Linked DNA regions of Homo sapiens: region 2 is linked to region 1. Evidence: promoter capture Hi-C in human tissues and cell types (Jung and others, 2019). All regions are on one chromosome and are shown on one strand. The core of a region is centred on a gene start or on the middle of the fragment in contact, and the rest is flanking DNA. Distances in the headings are between cores, read along the strand shown. Region 1 holds the start of PELI3 (pellino E3 ubiquitin protein ligase family member 3). Region 2 has its middle 9.6 kb from the start of SLC29A2.

What was found. The method cuts DNA at HindIII sites, captures the fragments that hold promoters and counts their contacts. A contact is called where the count stands out against the background at its distance.
Region 2: a contact is called between a fragment that was not itself captured here and the fragment with the promoter of PELI3 in region 1, in 2 of the 25 tissues and cell types used here (dorsolateral prefrontal cortex and lymphoblastoid cells).

Annotation. Positions count from the first base shown.
Region 1 is chr11:66,465,538-66,468,256 of GRCh38, reverse strand. PELI3 (pellino E3 ubiquitin protein ligase family member 3) reads right to left here and starts at 1,352. Exons shown (of 8, transcript NM_145065.3): 1 at 1,230-1,352; 2 at 1-129. The coding sequence starts at 128. RefSeq lists silencers at 865-1,214, 1,225-1,434 and an enhancer at 2,386-2,719. The HindIII fragment of the contact is 25,810 bases long and covers 1-2,719 here.
Region 2 is chr11:66,380,043-66,382,742 of GRCh38, reverse strand. No RefSeq gene overlaps it. Among named protein-coding and RNA genes, the nearest start is that of SLC29A2, 9.6 kb to the right of the region's middle. RefSeq lists an enhancer at 1-190. The HindIII fragment of the contact is 5,232 bases long and covers 1-2,700 here.

The sequences.
Region 1 (2,719 bases), core at 103-2,602:
TTGATGGGCTCCTCGCCTGGCTGCGCATCTTCACCGGGAGAGGAGAGAACGCAAGAGCCCTTGTTCCCCCGGTGCTGGAGGTCTGAGGTTCGGGGGGACCCCACTTCAGGGTTTCCTTCCAGCACCATTCTGGGCAGAGTGGGAGAGAAAAGAGCTTTGTAGGTTCCCACCCCAGCCCGGCTCAATTCCAGCTGCAGCCTGCTGCAGGGCCGCCTAGGCTAAGGCAAGGGTGACCTTTCACCGCCTCTACTGCTATGGCAACCACTTCCCCTCTGCCTCCTCTAAACTGCCCGAGGTTGCTGGGATACCAGGGAGGGGTGGCACAGTGAAGAGAGTCAGGATATTCAGTGGTGCCAAAGAGATGGACCAACTTGGGGTGGCCAGAGGCTGCTTTTTGGCCAAGATCCCAGTCTGGGATGTGCTTCAAAGCGGGGCACCCAATGAGTTGGGGGCCGTTACCCCTCATCTCAGACTCAGTTCCTGCTTATAGCTCTTAGCCTCTGGACCTCTGATTTAGCCTCTCTGACAGGTTCTTTGAATCTACCTGTCCATCTGAATCTTTCTTGCCCCTTTGAGGTCTAGGCCTCTGTCTGTCCATCTGCTTTCTCAATGACTCTCTGTCCTCCCAGCCGCTGTCCTTTTTGCCGTCTCTCTCCCCCCATTCCCCATCTCTGCCTGTCTGCCCGCCTCCGCCTCACCATCTGCCTCAGTCTCCCCATCTCGGCCTCCCCCTGCGGGTAGGCCAATAGACTCCTCCTGGGTGCGCGCTCTTCCCTCCCTCAGGTGTCTGTCTGCGTCCCCAGCCGCCCGGGTCTCAGGAGGCCTGCGGAGGCGGCGCTCCCCCCTCGAGCTCGGGCTGCAGCACAGCCGTCTCCCGCAGGCAGCCCGTTTGGAAAACATCCCCGCGCCAGAGGGACCGCGCCGGGGCAGGCCCGCGCCCTGCGCCCCGGGCGGGCAGAACGGGAACCGCGGCCCAGCACCTACGCAGGTCCACACCCGGCGGCCCCTCCGCACAACACGCGCGCGTGCACGGCCCCGCACGCCCCGGGCCCGGACGGCGCAGAGACCACCCGCACCCGCGACCGCAGGGACGCGCGGGCGCGCAGCAGCCACCGGCGCCCGCCCTCGGACCCACTCCCTCCACCACCCCCAGACACGCAAACACGCCCCCCGCGCCCGCCGGGGCCCGCCTGGCGCAGCCCCCGCCCCCTCCGCCCCGGCGGCCTCACCTGGCCACGCTCCGGGCCCCGCTGGGCGCCGCTCCCTCCCCGCCTAGCCCCTGCTCGGCCCCGGGCCGCTGCGGCGGGATGGGCCCGGCCCGCGGCGGCTCCGCGCTGCCTCGTCACGGGGACACCCAGGGCCGGGGGAGGGGGATGAGCGCGAACAGCCACGCTCCGCCCCCTGTCCGGAGGCCCCGCCCCATTTTCCCCGCCCCTAGGAGAGCTCCGCCTCGCTCCAGACTCCGCCTCTTGCGGCGATGCTCAGCCTTCGTAGGCGGAGCTCCGCCCCTTCGCAGGAGACCACGCCCTTCCCCTGGTACCGCCCTCTGACCAGGGAAGCCCCGCTCTCCACTCCGTCTGAGGGACTCCCTTGCCCCTCCTAGCCGGCTCAGGACTCCCCCGTAGTCTACACGACCCCTCCCCCATTTCAGACTCCCCAAACTCCGCCTCCATTTCCGGGGACTCCGGGGTTCTCCCAGAGACATGGGCGCCCCTCCCCACTGTCGGTCAGGGCCCTCACACGGCGCTGGAGGCCCCTTCCCTAGCCTTAGGCCCGGGACTACGCACCCCCAGCTCCGACACCCCGCCTACCATCTGGGGACGCCACGCAATTAGAGGAGAGGAGGAAAATGCTAAAGGCAAAGGGGGTGTGCGGCAGCGGTGGAGGCCGGGGAAAGCAGCTGCAGTTGACCAGAGTCGCAGACCTGTCTTCCAGCCCAGCTCGGGCACCCCCCATTCCCCTCCCCTCAGTCCCCTCCCCTCCGCCAGGATGCACACACCCCCCGCTGTGCTGCAAAGGAAAGAGAGTTTTGGGGGAGCACCGCCCCTTCTGGGCCTGGGGCTTGCGAGAGATCTATCAGTCTACGTTAGGCGCTGTGCGCTGTGCTTTGAGCAAATTAAACCCTTTACTTTAATCCTGGGAGGCAGGCACGATAGTTGCCCATTTTACAGATGAGGAAATAGATTTACAAAAGTGACTTGCTTGTTGTAGTTTGCTAGAAACGGGCCAAGAGAGAATCTCAGCTGTATGAGTGGCTTCAGTCTCAACTCCTAACTTCGTACCTTGTCGTTCTGACTAGGGATGGAGCCTCAGAGGTGCAGAAGAGAAACCTTGTCTGCATCAGGTAAGGTCCCTATTGCTCAGTACTCTTGGTCTGGAACTATAAAGGCTGGATTATAGTTCCAGATCAAGTCTTTGGTCTTGTGGGGGGCGGTGGGGGTGTTTAATGAGAAAATCAAGGAAGACTGCACAGAGGAGGTGGCTTTTGACTTCCATTATGAAGGATGCATGTTTAGTTTGCCTAAACATTCCTGAGAGGGAGCCGCTGCCACTCCCACCCCCACAAACTTGTTGCACCTGAAGTTCCCCATCTACCAGACTCCCCTGGGGCCCTACTATATCCACCCCGCTAACTCCTCCACCTAAAAATAGCCAAAGATACCAACTGCTTTGCCAACTGTTCTGGGGCCCAGCGGCTAGATGAAACAAGAAAGCAGCC
Region 2 (2,700 bases), core at 16-2,515, 85 kb after region 1:
GGCTGGATAACAGGCACCAACATATATAGCTGGTGGAACTGTGAACTGGTGCAATCTCTGTGGAGAGCAATTTAGCAGCATCTATTAAAATTACAGGTGTAAAAAAAATTTAGCTGTATATATCCTCGAAAGCATTTCCACTTCTAGGAATTTCACCTACAGATAAACTCCCAAATGTTATTCATTGCACCATTATTTATAATAACAGATGAATGGAAATCATCTATTTTATTTTTGTGTTTGTTTTTGTTTCTTGTTTATTTTATGCTTTTTTTTCTTTTTGTACTTTTTTCTAGATTGGAAACAATCTAACGTAAATGTCCATCGATAGGGGACTACTTTTTTTTTTTTTTTTTTGAGATGGAGTCTCGCTCTTGTTGCCCAGGCTGGAGTGCAGTGGCGCAATCTCGAGTCACTGCAGTCTCCACCTCCCGGGTTCAAGCGATTCTCCTGCCTCAGCCTCTCAGCCTTTTTTCTTTTTTCTTTTCTTTTCTTTTTTTTTTCTTTTCTTTTTTTAAGACGTAGTCTCGCTCTGTCACCCAGGCTGGAGTGCAGTGGCGTGATCTCGGCTCACTGCAAGCTCCGCCTCCTGGGTTCCCGCCATTCTCCTGCCTCAGCCGCCCAAGTAGCTGGGACTACAGGCCCCAGTCACCACGCCCTGCTAATTTTTTTTGTATTTTTAGTAGAGACGGGATTTCACCATGTTAGCCAGGATGGTCTCGATCTCCTGACCTCGTGATCCGCCCGCCTCGACCTCCCAAAGTGCTGGGATTACAGGCATGAGCCACCGCGCCCGGCCATTTTTTCTTTTTTTTAAGAGATGAGGTCACACTATGTTGACCAGACTGGTCTCGAACTCCTGGTCTCAAGAGATCCTCCCATCTTGGCCTCCCAAAGTACTGGAATTACAGGCGTGAGCCACTACACCCAGCCAATAGGGGACTACTTTAAAACATTATGGTTTAGCTATACAATGAACAACGTTATTAAACAAAAACAAGTTTAAGGAGTCAGGCAATATGATTCAGAGAAACTGCTCCCGGTATAGTGCAACTAAAATGCCGGAGAAGGCCAGGCACGGTGGCTCACGCCTGTAATCCCAGTACTTTGGGAGGCCGAGGTGGGCAGATCACCTGAGGTCGGGAGTTTGAGACCAGCCTGACCAACATGGAGAAACCCCGTCTCTACTAAAAATACAAAATTAGCTGGGCGTGGTGGCGCATGCCTGTAACTCCAGCTACCTGGGAGACTGAGGCAGGAGAATCGCTTGAACCCAGGAGGTGGAGGTTGTGGTGAGCTGAGATCACAGCATTGCACTCCAGCCTGGGCAACAAGAGCAAAACTCCATCTCAAAAAAAATGCTAGGGAACATATAAAAACATCTTTCTTTCCAGCACTTTGGGAGGCCAAGGCAGGTGGATCACGAGGTCAGGAAATTGAGACCATCCTGGCTAACACGGTGAAACCCCGTCTCTACTAAACAAAATACAGAATATTAGCCGGGCGCCTGGTGGTGGCGGGCGCCTGTAGTCCCAGCTTCTCGGGAGGCTGAGGCAGGAGAATGGCGTCAACCCGGGAGGCGGAGCTTGCAGTGAGCCCAGATCGCGCCGTTGCACTCCAGCCTGGGAGACAGAGCGAGACTAAGTTTCAAAAAAAAAACAAAAACAAAAAACAAAAAAAAAACACTTTCTGACGAATGGTTAAATAGGAAAAGTAAGAGAAATTCTTACTTTTTAAACTTTTTTTCATAGAAAGCTTTGAATCCACAGAAAGATAGAATAGCACAATGAACACTCGTAAACCCACAACCTAGGTGGCAATTGTTGATATTTTGCAACATTTTTCCATCTATATGAAAAAACATAATAATACATAATTACATATAAAGTACATATAATATATAAAGTAAAAACCAAGTATCATGATATTTCAACCCTAATTACTTCCCATACATGCTGAATAGTTTCCTCTTAAATTACCAATGTTCAGAGTTAAGAGTTGGTGTGATGCAGCCAACCGCTTCCAGCAGTGGCAAAGAGGGTTGGTTTTTATTTTGTCTTGTTTTTGCTTGTTTGGTTTTTATTTCTATTATTATTATTATTATTTTTTGAGACAGAGTCTAGCTCTGTAGCCAGGCTGGAGTGCAGTGGTGCAATCTCTGCTCACTGCAACCTCCCCCTCCCAGGTTCAAGCAATTCTCCTGCCTCAGCTTCCTGAGTAGCTGGGATTACAGGCACGTATGTGCTGCCACGCCTGGCTAACTTTTGTATTTTTAGTAGAGACGGGGTATCACCATGTTGGCCAGGATTGTCTTGATCTCCTCACCTCGTGACCCGCCCACTCAGCAAGTTACTGCATTGTTCATCGACAATACTTGGCCATCAAGAATGTTCACAAAATACTACAAATCAATGAATGTTTTCCCACGTTGTTATTAGGTTGAATCATGGGAAATAGACATTTTGTGGGTTAGAAAGCAACTTGATGAAGAGCATCCACAAAAAAACTACAGCTAACTATATACTTTATAGCGACAAACTTGAAGCTTTTCTGGTAAGATCAGGGACAAGGCAAGAATGTCCCCTCTCACCACTGCTTTTCAACATCCTACTGGAAGTTTTAGCCAACACAATAAGTTAATAAAAGGAAATAAAAGGCATACAGATGGGGAAAGAAGAAATAAAACTGTCTTTGTTTGCT